2 separate regions of the Homo sapiens genome follow, and region 1 is linked to region 2. Evidence: promoter capture Hi-C in human tissues and cell types (Jung and others, 2019). All regions are on one chromosome and are shown on one strand. The core of a region is centred on a gene start or on the middle of the fragment in contact, and the rest is flanking DNA. Distances in the headings are between cores, read along the strand shown. Region 1 has its middle 6.1 kb from the start of OR10G6. Region 2 holds the start of OR6X1 (olfactory receptor family 6 subfamily X member 1).

The links. The method cuts DNA at HindIII sites, captures the fragments that hold promoters and counts their contacts. A contact is called where the count stands out against the background at its distance.
Region 1: a fragment that was not itself captured here is called in contact with the fragment with the promoter of OR6X1 in region 2 in 1 of the 25 tissues and cell types used here (liver).

What each region holds. Positions count from the first base shown.
Region 1 is chr11:123,987,072-123,991,029 of GRCh38, forward strand. No RefSeq gene overlaps it. Among named protein-coding and RNA genes, the nearest start is that of OR10G6, 6.1 kb to the right of the region's middle. The HindIII fragment of the contact is 7,262 bases long and covers 1-3,958 here.
Region 2 is chr11:123,752,258-123,756,114 of GRCh38, forward strand. It overlaps OR6X1 (olfactory receptor family 6 subfamily X member 1), which reads right to left and starts at 2,261. Exons shown (of 1, transcript NM_001005188.1): 1 at 1,323-2,261. The coding sequence starts at 2,261. The coding sequence ends at 1,323. The HindIII fragment of the contact is 6,166 bases long and covers 1-3,765 here.

The DNA of each region.
Region 1 (3,958 bases), core at 1,342-3,841, 240 kb after region 2:
CTTTTTACTTAACTGAATTTATTCCTTTGACTTAACATATTTTTTCCTCTAAGTGCAATGTCACCATGGTACATATAAAGACATATAATATTACTCTGAAGATCCTATATTGTTACTATTGTCTGCTTTTTCTTTGAATCTCTCAGTAGAAGAATTGTTAATTGCATTAAGCACACAAATTATAGCCAGATGATGTTAGTACTAATCTCCTATTCAAATAAATACATAGTCTCCAAAAGGGCCTGGAAAATCCACTTCCTTAAGAAAATGTGGCACATATACACCATGGAATACTATGCAGCCATAAAAAATGATGAGTTCATGTCCTTTGTAGGGACATGGGTGAAATTGGAAATCATCATTCTCAGTAAACTATCGCAAGAGCAAAAAACCAGACACCGCATATTCTCACTCATAGGTGGGAATTGAACAATGAGATCACATGGACACAGGAAGGGGAATATCACACTCTGGGGACTGTTGTGGGGAGGGGGGAGGGATAGCATTGGGAGATATACCTAATGCTAGATGACGAGTTAGTGGGTGCAGTGCACCAGCATGGCACATGTATACATATGTAACTAACCTGCACAATGTGCACATGTACCCTAAAACTTAAAGTATAATAATAATAAAAAAAGTCTTATAAAAGTGGATTTCTTCCAATCTTTTTCTATTCCTGCTTTTGTTGGATTCTTTAGTAGAGCTACAGATGGAGATGAGCAGTGCCTTATTTCCAGGAGGCATGGGAAATTTCATCCAATACCTGTGAACTTTTGCCTGGAGTCTGAATTTCATTACATCGATAAGAGTACAGGAATCCCACCTGCCACACACCCAGAGTGAGTCTTGGAATCTGAAACTCTTTCAAAGCTTGGAATTGTGTGTTCAGTTAATAATCAAGGCAATTTCTGTGGTTTGTAGTATTCTCTGGATTTCATCTCTAAATTTTTAGGCAACAAAAGCCAAAATTGACAAATGGGATCTAATTAAACTAAAGAGCTTCTGCACAGCAAAAGAAACTACCATCAGAGTGAACAGGCACCCTACAAAATGGGAGAAAATTTTCGCAACCTACTCATCTGACAAAGGGCTAATATCCAGAATCTACAATGAACTCAAACAAATTTACAAGAAAAAAACAACCCCATCAAAAAGTGGGCGAAGGACATGAACAGACACTTCTCAAAAGAAGACATTTATGCAGCCAAAAAACACATGAAAAAATCCTCACCATCACTGGCCATCGGAGAAATGCAAATCAAAACCACAGTGAAATACCATCTCACACCAGTTAGAATGGCAATCATTAAAAAGCCAGGAAACCACAGGTGCTGGAGAGGATGTGGAGAAATAGGAACACTTTTACACTGTTGGTGGGACTGTAAACTAGTTCAACCATTGTGGAAGTCAGTGTGGCAATTCCTCAGGGATCTAGAACTAGAAATACCATTTGACCCAGCCATCCCATTACTGGGTATATACCCAAAGGACTATAAATCATGCTGCTATAAAGACACACGCACACGTATGTTTATTGCGGCATTATTCACAATAGCAAAGACTTGGAACCAACCCAAATGTCCAACAATGATAGACTGGATTAAGAAAATGTGGCACATATACACCATGGAATACTATGCAGCCATACAAAATGATGAGTTCATGTCCTTTGTAGGGACATGGATGAAATTGGAAATCATCATTCTCAGTAAATTATCGCAAGAACAAAAAACCAAACACCACATATTCTCACTCACAGGTGGGAATTGAACAATGAGAGCACATGGACACAGGAAGGGGAACATCACACTCGGGACTGTTGTGGGGTGGGGGGAGGGGGGAGGGATAGCATTAGGAGATATACCTAATGCTAGATGACGAGTTAATGGGTGAAGCACACCAGCATGGCACATGTATATATATGTAACTAACCTGCACAATGTGCACATGTACCCTAAAACTTAAAGTATAATAATAATAAAAAGAATGCAACCCCCCCCCAAAAAACACAATTCTTAAAATTTCAGCCAAAGTTGGGGAAATGTAAGAAATTGATATGATCAGGAAATGGGATTAGAGTATACTTTTTAAAAATCTTGACATTATTAAGTTGCTTAAAGTTTTAATAAAACATTTTTTAAAAATAAAAAAAAAGGACTTGTCTTACTACACACACCCTTTCTATTCTCTTCAATGGGTAAAGCTAGATATCAGAATTCCATTTGAATTTTTCTGTTTTTTAAAAAACATGAATAGCCTTTTTCTTGAAATGTAAGTCTTATTTGTATCTGCATTTAATTTTTTATAACCATTATCCTTAGTTTCTCATTTCATAATGAGATGAAACCCATCATAAGCCATTCTCATAACGAAATGAGAGACTGAGGGTAATGGTCATAAAAGACTCATTTCATAATGAGTCTCTCATTTCATTATGTCTCAGGGATTATAATTATAATCTCCTGCAAGGTCTTCTCAACTCTCACCTCTCCCCTTTAATGAATCACTTCATCCTGCATAACATTGACTGATCAAATTTCAAAAGAGTTTATCTCACTGGTCCCCTCCCACAAATGCTAATAATCTCAATCTCACATACTGATTTACTGTGCAACACAAAATTCTCAATTTATAACTCAAAACTTCTAAAATGTGATTGGTATCCATTTATTCTTATCCCCTACAACTTTTCTCTACTCAAGTACATTTCTCTGTTCAATAAGCATTTCTTTATGCAAGTAGATTTTCTCAACCTCTCCTAAATTTACTGTTAATCTCCTCTTGTTCTCCTCACCCTACCCAATCCCCCCTTGAAGAAATCAACTTCATTTTTATCTGATAACATCTCTAAAGCTTCTCGGACTTTAGTGTGCACATGAGTCACCTGGGACTCTTGTTAAGCTGCAAATCCTAATTCAACAGGTCTGGAGTAGGGACTGAGATTTCTGTCTTTCTAATAAGTGCCCAGAGATTTCCATTATGTGGTTCCATGAATTGCACTTTGAGTAGCAAGAATCTAAGCTACTATTCGAGGTTAAGATCAAGCCTATCCTCTCCATGTTGTCTTTCTACCCTAAGAATGCTTTGGTTCCCCTGTAAACTCAGTGGCATTTAACAGTGTGTTTTGATATGTAGCCTGTTCAGAAACTCTCTTAGCATACTTCTACACTTTTCTATGTGTATGTGATATAGTTCCCTAAGAAGAAGAATGTTTTCCATAAATATCTTTGAAAGAGAGCCAAAAAATGGCATGAACTATGAAGTTAGATGGACTTGGGTTTATTGTCCTGTCACTGTCAACTACTGGTTGAAGGATATTTGGAAGATTGCTCACTTCCTCTTCTCCTCTTGCTAAATACATCAATTCCACACCTTTAAAATGAAAATAATAATGCATAAAGAGTGTCCTATTAATAGTTGCTATTAACCCTGGATAGTATGTGAAATAACATAAAATCTTAATTTTTTAAAAGTCAGTTACTCAAACCGCTGAATTTTACATGACCCTTTCAATATGAGAATATCACTACTTCACAGAAAAGTCAATTCCAATATTGGACTGTTCATATACAATTTATACCATATACTGTTATACATATACTGTTCATACAATTTAAATCAACATGACTAAACTTCCCCCAATTATTTTTAGCCTAATCCTTTAAGCTCAATGAAATAGTCAAAATACCAAATAAATTCAAATAGAAATAATTTTTTGAACAAATCATGCTTACTGTATTTCACCACCTGCGTATAGCATAAAAATGGTAGGTGAGAAAAATCTGGCTAGTGACTGTCAAGCCTGACAAAAAAATTGAGACTTTGCTATGACACCTCTTTTCTTATCTCTTTCCTAGGAGTGTTTTTCTCCATGCTCCTCAACTTAGAATGGAATTAATGTCCTGATAAACCCATCCTAAGTCAAAAATATCATAAGATGAAAATGCATTGAATA
Region 2 (3,857 bases), core at 1,011-3,510:
CACTAACCCTGAAACCAGCCCAATTGTTCCACACAAAAGATATTTATGGATTTTTAAATGAACACAGAAATTGACACTCTGTCTTAAAACCTGAAACTTACATTTGTCTTAACTGAGTTCCTTCCTCAGGAAACTGACCCTCAGGCAAGAGACTGAAACCCACTAGATCACCAATCCGGACAACAAGATGCCAGGCCCCTCATTCATCATGATGGCTTCCTTACCCCTCCCTAATTCCTATTTTCTCACCTTACCAGCTCTTCTTCCTTACCCCTCTCTAACTCCTATTCTCCCTCCCTTCCACTATATATAAACCTCCCAAATTTAGTTGGTTGGGGAGATGGATTTGAGACTCTACCTCCCATTTTTCTTGGCTGCAGCATTCAGTTAAAGCCTTCTTCCCTGGCAATGCTCAGTGACTCAGTGATTGATGTTCTGTGCAGCAAACACCAGGACCTGACTGAACCCTGGGGGTTTTGGTGACAATCCTACATGTGAGCCCTGAACTTCATGTAACCTTGGGGCTGCATTTTCCAGTAGGAAAGTGTTTCTAGATATATTGGCTCTGAGACTTTTCCTAGCTTCCTAGGTACATGGTCTACTTATATTGGAGCCCAGAAACTGCTGTAATCCATGAACTGCAAATGGAAATTTTTTACAAGATGTTCTCAAGTTTTGGTATTATCTGAGGATGAACACCTCTAAGTTTATCTAAAAATTTGTATTATTTCAAGATGGAAGTCCCCTTATTGAGATATTATCAAACAAAAAGCTGATTCATTTCAAATATTTTGGAAGGACCATTAGAATTATTAGAAGTCTGTAGCGTGCTTCTCTCATGATAAAGATGATAGGAACTAAGAAAATGAGATGTGGAATGTTTTATGTTTTTGACAAGAAGATGAGGCAAAGAGGGTGGTCATAAAAAAAAAGATGGTGGTCATAAATAAAGAGGGAGACAGGATTCCTTATACATTTTTAAAGTTGTTGACATTTGTCTCTGACCTTAGTGGTTTCTACTTTCAGTTTGCAGTTGACAAGTCCAGAGTTCTACTTCATGCATCTGAGGATATACTGGGACTTCCTTGTTGAAGAATTACATTGTTTCTTCTCAAGAAAAACTCCTAGTTCATTTACATGTAACAAGTTCTCATGGGAGACCTTAACCATCATGGTTTGCTTTTGCATCTTTATCTTACTATAGCATTGAATCAGAACTTCTGGGATTTGGGGGGAGCCTGTTTTACCAAACTTCTCCAAAATCCTCTCTCAACTTTCATTGTTTTTATCTGCATTAAGCTCACTTTGATGTGTTGCATGTTTTACTTTGCATGACCAGTCTTTGGGCAAGTCATTGCCTTTCTTAAGGCTCCCTTCACCTCCTTGTTTCTAATAGTATAAATAAAGGGATTCAGAAGGGGGGTGAGGATAGTATTTAGCACAGACACCACCTTATTAATCTTAAAGGAGGAGTGTGCTGTGGGTCTTAGGTACATGAACAGAACAGCCCCGTAGAGCAGGGAGACAACTGTCAGGTGCGAGGCACAGGTAGAGAAAGTCTTTTGGTGGCCAGTGGCTGAAGGAATTCGTAGGATTGCGGACAGAATGTAGATATAAGAAATCATATTAAAGAGAAGTGACCCTGGGATCACAAGGATGGTTGCTATGACGCCCAGGAGTTCCAAAATGCTGGTGTCTATGCAGGCGGCTTTCAAACTGGGCCCAACATCACAGTAGAAATGACTGATAACATTATTGCCACAGAATGGCAACTGGATGAGCAGCATCGTCTGACAAAAGACAATGGTGAAGCCCACCACCCAGGAGCTCAGGGCCAGCTGCAGGCAGAGTTTGCTGGTCATGATGGTGGGGTGGTGAAGGGGATTGCAGATGGTGAGGTAGCGGTCAAAAGACATGATAGTGAGGATCAAGAACTCGGTGGTGCCCACGAAGAAGTGGAAGAAGGCCTGCAGCAGGCAGCAGGACATGCAGATTACTGTTCTTGCCACTACAAAGGTTCCTAGCAGTTTGGGGATGACTGTGGTGGTGTACCAGATTTCTAAGAAAGACAAGTTACAAAGGAAGAAGTACATTGGAATTTGTAGCCTGGGCTCAGCCCACACAGTGGCAATAATAAGCCCATTGCCTGCAAGGGTTAATATGTAGGTGAGAAAGATTGCAATAAAGAGAGGTGTTTGTAGGCCTTGGATAACAGGAAAGCCTAGCAGGATGAATTCTGTGATTACTGTGCCATTTCTCATGTCCCTTGATACCCTAGAAAGACAAGCAAGAAAGCTCCTTAGAATCTTAGAGCACAGTTGATTATAGTTGGGACAAAAAATAAGGAGGATTCTGACTATGTAAGGTCCTTCGGGACCTGACTCTATTTCAGGTCCTCCCTCACCCACATACAAATACGCACTGGCCACCCCTTCTTTACTGATGATTTGGCTGGTTCTTTTGTCAGCAAAACCAGCTTCTAATGGACTTTGAATGTATTAAAAACACTTGATGAATGCAAAGTGTTTTTTCACCCTTATACAACTATGAGAATAATCATGTGAAATGTGGTTGCTTCTTGTCAATTATTCATATAACTATTTTCAATGCATAGTGTGTATACCAACTTATGTACGTAAACGTGGCTGTGAGTTCATAAGAAATTAATCCCTATTCTCAGAGTCTGAAAAAGAAGTTACTGATTACATTACAGATACGTTTAAGGAAGCCATTATTGTGTGTGGGTGTGAGTGTGTGTCTTAAAATAACCCCAAATCATTGCTATTATATTAGTGGTGAGATAAAGTTAGATAACAGAAGAGGTGTTTTTCTGAAGAATCCACTTCCACATTCTAGTTCAGACTCCTTTGCTAAAGGTATCAAAAATAACATTTAAAACTAAATGAATAAAACTGTTTAGGAAGTAGAGAAATATTCAACTCAAATTCAAAATTTCAGAACAAGCTGAGTCAAAGCCTGTTATATGGAAGCACCTAATAAATGTACATGGGATAAAGATCTGCAGACACTAATCTACAAAAGTGAAAGGTTAGCAAATGCTAAGGATAACAAAATGGGAACTCTGAAAAGTACATTTTTGTCAAAATTTTTTTTGTGACTAAATGTCTTTTTATACCAAGTAAAGTATTTCTATTTGTATATGCAAATTCATGGGCTGAGAACATCCTTTCTGTTCTACCAAAATTCAGTAGAAAATAGTAAAACTACTTCCTTTCTTATTGAGGCTATTCTTCCATGTGGGTTTCCTTTGAAATGGGTGAGACAAATTACTGTGAAATGAATTTCACATTTTTCAAAGTACATAAGAAGCTTAGCATGAAAGAGGCAACTTACAGGTCATTGATAGGTTGTTTCATTCTTCCCTCATGTGAGATAACTGTAATTCTCTGAGGGCTTGCTTAGGGAAGAAAAACACTTCCATTTTCTCCCACCTCTTTTCTAGACCAGGAAAAGATTCTTTGTCTACAATGTCACAAGCTCTAGTGCCTTTCCACAAAACGATGAGAGACAGAGAAGTATTTGAATTTGCACTAATGGCCAATATAACTGGCCACGAACGTGATCTCTTTATATAGGATAGATATGGAATTATCTTCATTCCCCATGCAGAGAAGAGTGGCAATCTCTATAGCTCAATATAACATTTCCAAGGGCTACACATTCTACCATTTGGAGAATTAGACCTATGAATTCCACAAGCATTTGTTGAGAGCTTACTATGCTTCAAGTACTGCCAGGCAATTAAAGAGCTTATCAGATAGATAGATAGATAGGTGGATAGATAGATAGATAGATAGATAGATAGATAGATAGATAGATAGATAGATAGATAGGTG